2 separate regions of the Homo sapiens genome follow, and region 1 is linked to region 2. Evidence: promoter capture Hi-C in 16 types of primary human blood cells and fetal thymus (Javierre and others, 2016). All regions are on one chromosome and are shown on one strand. The core of a region is centred on a gene start or on the middle of the fragment in contact, and the rest is flanking DNA. Distances in the headings are between cores, read along the strand shown.

Region 1 (6,327 bases), core at 695-3,194, 1.1 Mb after region 2:
GACAGGGTGAGACTGTCTCGAAAAAAAAAGAAAAAGAAAAAAAATAAATACAATAATATATGGAGGGGTCCTACAGCATCTGCATCTGCTCCTTGGTGAGATGGAACATGGCTGGAGTCCGGGAGAGTGGAGGGAGGAGCAGTTAAGAACAAGCCTCTGGGTTGGGCAGAGCTGCATTTTAATCCCAGCTCTCTGCCACTGACTGAGCTGTGGGACTTGGGCCAGTTATTTAACTGCTCTGTGCCTCAGTTTCCCTATCTTTATAATGGGAGTAATTAGCCTCTATCACTGGGTTATCAGGAGAGTAAAATGAGATCATGCATGCAGGATGCTTAGCACAATGCCTGGCATACAGTGTTCAAGAAAGGATAGTCGTTATCATTATTAATATTATTTACAGTAGGTGCATCTCAGTTGTGTAGGGAGTGGGGAATGGTGGTTATAAAAATCTAAAGGAGGTGACAGTGACCTAAATTTAGGCTCCCATACTTCCAGGCATATATTGATGTGTTCCTGCACCATCCACCTAAGAACTGATTTTATTCTTGAGGGTATTATAGCTAGCTAAAATAAAAGACTACATTTCCCAGGCTCCCTTGCAGCTAGGGGCAGGGGAAGTCTGGGATGGGACTTTGCTTTCGGAAGATGCCCTTCTGCTCTTTCTTTCCCTCCACCCTCCTGCTGTCTGGGTCCTAGAGTTGATGGCTGGGGTCCTGGCGGCAATCTGGGACCCTGCAGCACCTGGAGGGAAGAAGCCACGTCCCCAGGACAGTGGCGCAGAAACACAGGAGTCTGAGTCCCTGATGACCCTGCAGTGGCCGTGCCAGCCCCAGCCCACCTCCCTCTGCACTTATATGTGAGAGAGAAATAAACCTCTATCTTGCCTAAGACTTTGTTTAGGTTTTCTGTAATGTGAAGGCAAGCCCAGCCCTAACTAATTGAGTTCTCACAGAACGACTACAAATTCCAAAGCCCATGGCTAGGAGGTGGCGCAGGGCGTGGCCTGGGGAGGGGCTGCTGCCTGCTCCCAAGCGAGCCTGGGCCTGGGCACTTACTCATCGCCAATGTAGAGCTTGGGCCAGACCTCGTTGACGTGGGTGTACTGGGGACTGCCCTTCCAGAAGAGCCGCTCCAGCTCAAAGGCTCCAGGGGTGCAGTAGTCCTCCTCCTCCCCTTCCTCCTCCATCTTCGGCGACAGCCTCTTGGCAGATGAGTAGGCATTCTTGAGGCTTGTCTTCACTTCTCCAGATGTCATTTTAGAGCCAAGGGATTTTCTCTCCTTTCTGCAGCTGGTTATGAGAGAGAAGCAGGATGGGGGTTAGCAGGGGACACTGAGGCAGGGAATAGGCTTTACAAAAAGAGGTGGGAATAAGCTTATCTTAAAATTTGGAAAGAGTTTCCCCAACCTGCTATGCCCCGGCTTCCTCTTCCCAGGCCACACAGGTAAACAAGGAAGGCCATGATGGCAGTTAAATGACACTTCCCCAATGTTCCAATCTTTCTAGAGAAGGAGAGCTGGGGTCCTTGGACGTGGGCCAAGGCGGGCTCTGGAGCTAAGAAATCCTGCAAGCAGCCAGTTCCTTCCCACCTTTCTTTAGACTTTACTCCTTTGGTTCCTACTTTTTCCTTTATCTGACTGAAACCTACTGGTTTGGGCCATTTGGGACCCAAAATAGGAAGGCCCAGAAGATTCCTGACATTCCAGGCCTGTGGCCCTCTCAGTGTCTGCAGGGAGCCGTCAGCCAGTGGAAAGAGTACATCGCCAAGGCCATACCTGCCCGGGCCTGGGTCTGGGCCACACGCACATCAGCAGGACTTCAGAAGCCTTGAGAGGGGAGGAAACCTGGCTGCATGAGGGTTAACCTGTCAGAAGAGCTGAAGGCAATGCTCACACTCTCACACTGGGAGCCTGGCCATCACTGTGTTAACTTACCAAGGGGATTGGAAGAGATGCCCCAAGATAGAAAGCTGTGCCTCGAGACTGAAATGTGCATTTGGAGAGCTTGTTAGGCTCTGCCAGTGGAATGTGGGAGAGGACTTTCCATTGTCCCCAAGGAGAGGAATTTGCAGTGGAATTGGACATTGATTGTTTCCTGAGCTGAGTAAATGATGCACCTATGGTCAGCCTGGGAAAGGAGACTGGAGAGAAGGAGGAAAAGGTGGGAAGACTGAGAACCATGGAGGTGAATGCTATTTGTTTATTTATTTGACAAATACTTATATAACACCTATTGTGTGCCAGACACTATTCCAAGTGCTTGATGATTGTAAGCCCATTTAATCTTAACAACACTGAGATAGGGTTATCCTAATACCCTATCATTAGCCCCATTTTACAGATAAGGAGGATCATGAATTGAGGCTGTCTGTAGCACAGGGTCTTAGTGTCAGGGGGAGGGAGATGGGAGGTGCAGTGTGAGGAGGGGCAGGCCGGGGATGCAGAGAATGTAGGAAAGGGTTCATGGCTTCAAAGACCATTAGGAACATGTCAAAGGGACTCAGAATACAACTTGAAGAAGCTTCCACTTATCAAAACTGGAACAATTTGAACATGAAAAATAAAAATAATTCCAGTGGATCAAAACACATCAAACACTTAGGTCATAATAATACTGAAGGCCAGGCGCGGTGGCTCATGCCTGTAATCCCAGCACTTTGGGAGGCCGAGGCGGGCAGATCACCTGAGGTCAGGAGTTCAAGACCAGACTGCCTAACATGGCGAAACCCCATCTCTACTAAAAATACAAAAAATTAGCCGGGTGTAGTGGCGGGTGCCTGTAATCCCAGCTACTTGGGAGGCTGAGGCAGGAGAATCGCTTGAACCTAGGAGGCAGAGGTTGCAGTGAGCTGAGATCGCACCACTGCACTCCAGCCTGGGCAACAAGAGTGAAACTCCATCTCAAAATAATAATAATAATACTGAAAACAGTCCGGGAGCAGTGGCTTATGCCTGTAATCCCAGCACTCTGGGAGGCTGAGGTGGGCAGATTGCATGAGCCCAGGAGTTCAAGACCAGCCTGAGCAACATGACAAAACCCATCTCTACAAAAAAATGCAAAAATTAGCTGGGTGTGGTGGTGCATGCCTGTAGTCCCAGCTACTCAGGAGGCTGAGGCTGAGGTGGGAGGACCACTGGAGCCCAGGAGGCTGAGGCTATAGTGAGCCAAGATCATATCACTGCTCTCCTGGGCAACACAGTGAGACCTTATAAAAAAAAAAAAAAAAACCCAAAACTTATTATGCACGGTTGGAAGATGTTTGGGAACCAGCTCCTTATTTTGAAGATGGATAGATAAAGGAGAAGAATCTGCATGTATTGCTTCTCTCTTTTACAAACTATATACTACTGGGTTGATACGGGAAATGTTCTTTTATAGAAGTATTCCAGATAATGAATAAAGAAGGAAGCACCATTTTACACCACCTGATGAGTTGCTGCATCCAGAGACTGAGCATAAACTGCCAGCCACGTATGAATAAGAAGAGATGGTCAGACATCATATGCCTTCGAATAGAAGAGCACACCACCATGGCGGGAATCATCTCACCAAAGAGGTCTATATCTATCAGCCGACTTGCTGGAGATTCCGAGGACAGTTACGTTATACCACAGGGCCTTATCTTTTAGAAAAACATACTGAAATATTTGCTTCAAAAATAATATAGTTGGAAAATATAAATAATATAATGTTGGGGCAAGGTATTGATGTAGGTGTGAATGAGATGGGCTGGCTATGAGTGATGGTGATTGGGGCTGGATGATGGTTATAAGGTAGTTGTTGTTTCTCTTTTTTCCTTTTTTAAAATAGAGATGAGGTCTCGCTATGTTGGCCAAGCTGGTCTCGAACTCCTGAGCTCAAGTGATCCTCCCACCTCAGCTTCCCAAAGTGTTGGGATTACAGGTGTGAGCCATCACACCTGGCCAGTTGCTGTTTCTCTTCAGGTGTGTTTGAAATTCTCCATGATAGAAATTTAAAAGGAAAGGGTTGAGACCACTGCTTTGGGGAATTGGATTCTCCCAAGTCCATAGCAGATGACTTAAAGGATCACTAGCTAGCCATGAGTGTCTGTAGGGATTGTGGGAAGCCAGGGTTTGTGACTTCCTCCAACAACTTCCTGCTTCCTGGTGAAGTGTGGAGAGGGCAATAGGCAGCAAAGGGGACCCTCCTGTGAAGTCTCTCAAAGTGTGGTCTGAAGACCACGTCTGTCAGAGTCACCTGGCACTAACCAAAAATACAGATATCCGGGCTGCACCCTCGTAGGGGCGCAGGCATCTGTATCTCAATGAGCTCCGAAGTGAGTCTGACGCTTAGTAAAGTTTGATAATAATTGTCTGAGATGTGGCTAGAGAGCCAGGGTGCTGCGGAGTCAAGGGAAAGGTAGTGAGGGTGCTCATTCAAAATGCCTCCCGCTGTCCCAGTGGGGTGGGAGGCCCGGTCTTTGGCCCAGAATGCAGCTGCAGGCTGGGAGGAGAGAGGACCTTGCTTCGGGGCTCCTGAGTGTGGCTTCTCTCTGTAGCCTTGGTGTCTGGCACGTAAGAGGTGCTCAGGAGATATGGGTTGGATGAGGAAGTGGCTTAGTGAATGAATGGAATGAGTGAATGAGTGACTGAGGGGTGAAGGAATGATTAAGGGCTGTGAGGCCTGTGCAAGGGGCTCAGCAAGAGCTGCTAAGGCAGGACTGAGCCTCCAGGCTGATTTGGAGGAGGGAGAAGGTGAGGGGACTGCAGGCGCAGGGTGGGCTGCCCTCCCCCACGGGTGGTCATTCAGGCCCAAACTCTATTCTGGGGCCTGCCTGCTGTGTTTCCAGTCAGGAAGGAAGAAATTATTTTAAGGAGTGGCCAGAAATCTTTCTCACAGAAACGAGCCCAGACCTTTCAGTCCCCTAAGAGCATACGTAGTTATAGCCCTCCTTGCTTCAGGCCCACAGTGTCTAAAGGTGTGAAGCTCAGCTCGTCCATGGCACCCACTCTTCTTGTTCGAAGTGAGTAGAAGCTGGGCACCATACACCTAAAGGTGGTTTAGGCCATCTTGAACCCTGCCTGCGGTTAATGGAAGCTTCAGAAGAGGTGATTTTCGGGAGACGCTAGAGTCAATTCCGTTCTGAAACCTCCGTCTGCCTCCTTTGATCACTGAAGCTGACCTCACCCTTGGTGAGGCCATTCTTCCTTCATTACACTGTGGAGGGAACCATCCCCGTCTCCATCTCTGTGCTGAAAGCCTCGGCTGGATTTCCAGACAAAGGAGGAAGTGGTGCGGTCTACCCCGAGGAGCTTGGCACGCAGAGTGAGCCCTGGGATCTATTATCCTCCAGCACGCAGATTTGATGGGGAAAGAGAACAAAGTGTGGAACCGTCCAGAAACCACAGACCTGTAATCTTTCCAAATCCTGAAGGCGGCCTGTGTGCACCCTCTCTGCATGGCTCCCAACTCTCTAATTCTCAGAGAGGCCAGGAGCATCTGTTTCCCAGATCACAGCCAACATGGAAGGGAAGACAAATCTGTTCTGTTTGGTTTCCATAGATTCGACCCAGAGATTAACTGCCAAGGTCTCAATGACACACACAATATCAATCACAGGCTAAATGTCATAATGAGAGCTGGGCAGGCTGTCAAGAGAGGCCCCCAGGTTCCTGTTACAGCTTCATATTTAAAGATTTGGTCCCAGGAAATCAAATGCTGTCTCCGAGACGACTTGGCCTACATGCAATGGCAGCCTGTCTCCTCCTTAAAAGGTGACAAACTCAGGCTCCTTCAGGGAGGGGCCAGGCAGATAACATAGAGGAAGGAAGTAGGTTGGGTGTTAAAAAGTAAACAAACAAAAACCTGGCTGTTGGCCTCAGGCAAGAGACATTAGGGAGTGGTGGGGAGTGTGGCACATCAGGGAGCATATGCCTCCATTAAGGGGGCAGCAGCTTGCTGTCCCATGTGGGAATGCAAGCCCAGATTTTCTGGTATTTTTATGATCCTCATAGATTGTTGTGAGAAATCTATTGATTTTTAAATGTAAGCCCCTGTAATCGATGCTATTCTTGCCCTGTTACAAGGATAGCATCTACTACAGGTGCCTACAGGTGCCTCCTCAGCTCAAGTCACTGCAGCAGAAGTGGACAGTTCTTTATATACATAAAAGCCTTCCTACCTCAGATGCCTGTTTTCCTGCTTGAGGGCATTTTCTAGTCCTTGTGCTGGTCAGGCCTGCAGTATGTGGAGTTAACATCCCCCAGAAGTTGTCACCAATTAGAGGCAGGAGTTGGTGGATAAACATCCCCACTTCCTCAACCCTGAGTGGACCACTTTTGAAATATGTCCTGCACAGTCTCCTGGA
Region 2 (5,822 bases), core at 1,694-4,193:
ATCCCAGCTACTCGGGAGTCTGAGGCACGAGAATTGCTTGAAACTGGGAGGTGGAATTTGCAGTGAGCCGAGATCACACCACTGCACTCTATCCTGGGCAACAGAGAGCAAGACTTCGTCTCAACAACAACAACAACAACAGAAAGGATTCATGAGTTCATAAGTCCTTTAGCATAATACTGGCACCTAATAAAAGCATAAAAACGGTGGTTATTATTACAAAGCTAAGTAAATTATTGTAGCATCAGATCAGATGGGAACCCTCTGCCCTCTCCCACCTCAGAACTGCACTATTTTGCGGGAGTGGAAACCTGCTAGGAAGCTGCCCAAGCCGAGTGGCTGTTCAGTTTCTGCCTTCCCCTCAGGGGCCAAGAAAGATCTTGTTCAAACTTGAGCAGCTCCAGCATCAGGGCTCAGAGACACTGAAAACAGGAAGTATGAGCCCTACTGGCAGGGTTAAGCCAGGAGGCTGTTAACAATTTTCAGGCCATTTCCCAGCCAACACCCTGACCCCCAGCCAGCTGCTGTCTCTTTGCCTAATATTAGATCTCACCCCAGGCTAGCAGGCATCAGCCGCTTCTCCAGCAACCAGTTTCACAGTTCCAGATTCTCACTCCAGAGACTGCCTCCTATTAGTGCCTCCACGATCAAGCACTGTGCTTTTTCTGTTTTTGCTTTTGTTTTTTTTTTTTTTGAGATGGAGTATCGCTCTGTCGCCCAGGCTGGAGTGCAGTGGTGTGATCTCGGCTCACTGCAACCTCCGCCTCCCAGGTTCAAGCGATTCTCCTGCCTCAGCCTCCCGAGTAGCTGGGATTACAGGCGCCCACCACCACGCCCGGCTACTTTTTGTATTGTTTTTAGTAGAGATGGGGTTTCACCATGTTGGCCAGGATGGTCTTGATTTCCTGACTTCGTGATCCGCCTGCCTCGGCCTCCCAGAATGTTGGGATTACAGGCGTGAGCCACCGTGCCCGGCCTTTTTTTTTTTTGTTTGAGATGGAGTCTTGCTCTGTCCCCCAGTTTGGAGTGTAGTGGCTCAATCTCAGCTCACTGTGCAACCTTTGCCTCCCGGGTTCAAGCAGTTCTCCTGCCTCAGCCTCCCGAGTAGCTGAGATTACAGGCGCCCGCCACTACGCCTGGCTAATTTTTTGTACTTTCAATAGAGATGGGGTTTCACCATGTTGGCCGGGTTGGTCTCAAACTCCTAACCTCAAGTGATCAACCCGCCTCAGCCTCCCAAAGTGCTGGGATTACAAGCATGAGCCACCATGCCAGACCAACACTGTGCTAAATTATTCATGTGTTGTCTGAGTTAATCCTCCCAAGAATCCTATGAGGAAGGTAGTATCACTAGCCCCATTTAACAGTAGAGAAAATGGAGGCACAGACAGATTGAGTGACTTGCACGAGGCAATGCAGCTCCAAATGCAAAGAGTCAGGGTTCGAACCCAGGCAGCCATCTCCAGAGTCCTCATGCGCGGTACTAGGATTTATCACCTCTCAGGAGAGTCCAACTAGGGCAAAAGGAGAGCAGCCCCCCTTTCAAGCTTTCTACTTTATGGTTGCTGGGTTTCTAGGCAACAGCTATCAGAATTTTTTTTTTTTTTTTGAGACGGAGTCTCACTCTGTTGCCAGGCTGGAGTGCAGTGGCGTAATCCTGGCTCACTGCAACCTCCGCCTCCCGGGTTCAAGTGATCCTCCTGCCTCAGCCTCCTGAGTAGCTGAGATTACAGGCACATGCCACCACGCCCGGCTAATTTTTGTATTTTTAGTAGAGACGGGGTTTCACCATGTTGGCCAGGATGGTCTCGGTCTCTTGACCTTGTGATCCACCCGCTTTGGGCTCCCAAAGTGCTGGGATTACAGTTGTAAGCCACCCGCCCAGCCCAGAATTTTTTTTTTTTTTTCCATACACAGTCTTGCTCTGTCGCCCAGGTTGGAGTGCAGTGGCCCATCTCGGCTCACTGCAACCTCTGCTTCCCAGGTTCAAGCTATTATCCTGCCTCAGCCTCCTGAGTAGCTGGGATTACAGGCGTGCACCACCACACCCGGCTAATTTTTGTATTTTTAGTAGAGACGGGGGTTTCACCATGTTGGCCAGGCTGGTCTCAAACTCCTGACCTCGTGGTTCACCCACCTCGGCCTCCCAAAGTGCTGGGATTACAGGCGTGAGCCACTGCGCCCAGCCTCATCTATCAGAATTTTAATCCTCTCCTAGATAACAATTCTTTCCTCCTAGAAGATTCCCAGGCCAGATGAGGAGACCACACTCAGCCATTGGTTTCAAAGTAAAACTTCACTGTTCTCACAGTAACCTCAGCCTTTCTGCTGCAATCTGGTTTCATTGAAGTGGTTTCCGTTTTCACCAGAACCCCTCTTTCTGAAGTATTCTCAGCCCATTATATTAACAGCACTCAGCCTGCTTTCCACGTATGCCCTATCTTTCCCAAGCTGACCACAGCAGCACCCCTGCCTATACCCCTCCATACTCACTCCCATTGGGTCCACCTTCCTTCCAAGAAGGAAACATTTAAGCCCTCCCTTTGAATTAGATGAAGTAAGAGGAGTTGCTGAGGTGTTTTTTAAAAATCAATTCTGGGCTAGGTGCAATGGCTCACACCTGTAATCCTAATACTGTGGGAGGCCTAGACGGGAGGATTGCTTGAGCCCAGGAGCTCGAGGCTGCAGTGAGCTATGATTGCACTACTGCACTCCAGCCTGGGTGACAGAGCAAGACCCTGTCTCTAAAGAAAAAAAATCAGTTTTATTGAGATATAATTCATATATCATACAACTTACCCATTTATTCTTTCTCTTTTCTAGAGACAGGGTCTTGCTCTGTCACCCAGGCTGATCTCAAACTCCTAGGCCAGAGTGATCCTCCCACCTCAGCCTCCTGAGTGGCTGGAATTACAGGCTCATACCACCACGTCTGGCACCATTTGAAGTGTACAATGCAATGGTTTTTAGTAGATTCACAGAATTGTGAGACATCACAATCAATTTTAGAACACTTCATCACCTCACAAAGAAATCCTGTACCCACTCACAATCACTCCGTTTTTCTCCCCAACCCCCTCAGCCCTAGGCAATCACTAATTTACTACTTTCTGTCCTCTCTGTGGGTTTGCCAATTCTGGGCATTTCATATCAATAGAATCCTATAATATGTGGTTCTTTGTGACTGGCCTCTTTCACTCTTAACATGATGTTTTCAAGTTTTATCCATGGCATAGCATGTGTCAGTGAGGTTGCTGAGTTTTAATAACAAATTGAGGGAAAAGATGGTCTAGGCGAGGTGCAGTGGCTCACATCTGTAAATTCCAGCACTTTGGGATACCAAAGTGGGAGGATCCCTTGAGTTCAGGAGTTCCAGAACAGCCTGGGCAACATAAAGAGGCCCCATCTCAAAAAAAAAAAAAAAAAAAAAAGGATGTTCTAGGTCTCTTTTTGAGGTTTCAGTCACATTGAGATTCATTCAACAATCTTTGTCATTTCTTTCTTTCTTTCTTTTTTTTTTTGAGATGGAATCTCGCTCTGTCGCCCAGGCTGGAGTGCAGTGGCGCAATCTCGGCTTACTGCAATCTCTGCCTCCCAGGTTCAAGCAATTCTCTGCCTCAGCCTCCCGAGTAGCTGGGATTACAGGTGCCTGCCACCATGCCCCACTAATTTTTTTCTATTTTTAGTAGAGACGAGGTTTCACCGTCTTGGCCAGGCCGATCTTAAATTCCTGACCTCATGATCCACCTGCTTCGGCCTCCCAAAGTGCTGGGATTACAGGCATGAGCCACTGCGCCCGGCCCTTTGTCATTTTTTTAAAGTACCCATACACAGGACATTATTTTAGATACAAATGAGGCAGTCCTAGTCCTCAAGGAGCTCACCACTTTGCAAAGTGCTATACTAAGTCTGCATAAAATGCATGGAAAAATAATGAAGAAGCAATTGATTCTGCCTGGTGAAGTCAATGACGACTTTACAGAAGAGGTGATATTTTACCTGGACATTCAAATACACACAGAAATTTGCCAAACTAGAAGAAAGGCATTGTAGGCGTAGGGAAGTTCATGGAGGCATGAAAAGGTGAGGTGTTCTAAGGAAATGAGGAATAGTCCATTGTGGTGGAGAACTCTGGGGGGCAATGAGTAGGTGGAGATGGTGGGGAAGGATCTGGTGGGATCCAGCTGGTGATGACCCTGCTGCAGGACTGATTCTCAGCAGCAGGCACTGGTTCTGCTCAGTGACTAAACAGATGCTGTCCTGAGATCCTCTCCGCGTGGCCCCTGCCATCAGCCTCTCTCCACTTCTTCATGATCCAGCAACCACAGGGTTAATGCCTGTGGCACAGCAAAGGCCTCTGAGATCCTCCCTCCTCCAGCTGGCTCAGGCGAAAGTGTCCTACTGGGGTATCTTGATAGTTAAATATTTTGACTATCACCTCTTGCCCTCAGGCACTATTTTTCAAAATCCAGAAAGTGAATTAAGTTCTAGAAGCCATAAAAAAATTGGCTTTTTAAACTAAACATTTTTATTCAATTGTAAAAGTAGCTACAAATGTAAAATACTTTCATAGCATTCCACAGCCATTGTTAACATCTCTGGCTTCTTGGGTTCCTTTGTAATCTCAACCTCTTTTACTCGGTCTTAAATGTTAGGATTCCTAAAGCCTGATCTTAAACTTCCTATTCCCACCCTAAGCTTTCTCCCTTAGGATCTTGTTAGCACCCAGGCTTAAATGACCACCAATAAACAGATGGCTTACAAAGCTGATCTCTAGCCAGACCTCTCTTCTGCACTCCAGACTCTTATTTTCTGTTGTCTACTTGACACCCCTTTTGGTTGTCACTCACAGGGGACCTCAAAGTCAACCTGCCCCAAACTGGCCGAGTCTTCATGCCCCAGTGTGGAGACATCTCCCATCACTTTCTGTCTCAGATGATAGCACCACATCCATTCAATTATGAAAGCCAGAAACCTGGGGCCATCCTGATGCTTCTCTCCTGGTTTCCTTCATCCCCTCCATCACCAAATCCTGGGGATTTGACTGATATCTCTTGAAGTCGTCCATTTCTCTCCCTCCCCACCATCACCATTAGTTGAGCCCAGTCTACCCTACAATAGCTTCCCAGTTTGGTGCCACTGCACTACAGCCTGGGCGACAAGAGCAAAACTCAGTCTCAGAAAAAAAAAAAAAAAAAGGACCAAAGGACCACTAAAAGAAGAGCACTCTTTTTTTCTTTTTTGAAGCAGGGTCTTGCTCTGTTGCCCAGGCTGGAGTGCAGTGGCACAATCCTAGTTCACTGCAGCCTTGACCTCCTGGGTTTAAATGATCCTCCTGCCTCAGCCTTCCAAGTAACTGGAACCACAGGTATGTGCCACCACACCTGGCTAATTTTTTTTTTTAATTCTTTTGTAGAGACAGGGTCTTACCATGTTGCCCAGGCTGGCTGGTCTCAAACTCCTGGGCTCAAGTGATCCTCCTGCCTTGGCCTTCCAGTGTGCTGAGATTATAGGCATAAGCCACCATGGCTGGCCTAAGAAGGGCATTCTTAGCACAGGTTGGTGAGGATTAGGGGCTAGAAGAGAACCCAAAAGTTTCATTTATTCACTGATTCATCCTTCACTCATTAATATAGCAAACACTTATTGGGAGTCGGCCATGGGCCTGGCATTGTGCTGTGTATTGGGTATAAAGATGAGAGCCCCAGTCTCAACCCCAGTGAGATAAGGGTCAAGTTGGGGAAGAGACACATTGCAAATGAATAGAGTACAGGGTGAGGAAGATTTACAAGATGGGCAGGGATGGCTAAGACAGCAAGGTG

The links. The method cuts DNA at HindIII sites, captures the fragments that hold promoters and counts their contacts. A CHiCAGO score of 5 or more calls a contact.
Region 1: a contact is called between a fragment that was not itself captured here and the fragment with the promoter of C10orf55 in region 2, in 1 of 17 cell types (total CD8 T cells). The highest score is 5.3, in total CD8 T cells.

The regions. Positions count from the first base shown.
Region 1 is chr10:75,057,260-75,063,586 of GRCh38, forward strand. It overlaps DUSP29 (dual specificity phosphatase 29), which reads right to left. Exons shown (of 4, transcript NM_001003892.3): 2 at 1,056-1,289. The coding sequence starts at 1,255. Among named protein-coding and RNA genes, the nearest start is that of DUSP29, 13 kb to the right of the region's middle. RefSeq lists an enhancer at 962-1,513. The HindIII fragment of the contact is 1,146 bases long and covers 1,372-2,517 here.
Region 2 is chr10:73,919,834-73,925,655 of GRCh38, forward strand. C10orf55 (chromosome 10 putative open reading frame 55) reads right to left here and starts at 2,944. Exons shown (of 5, transcript NR_160938.1): 1 at 2,800-2,944. RefSeq lists enhancers at 339-987, 988-1,634. The HindIII fragment of the contact is 3,151 bases long and covers 1,546-4,696 here.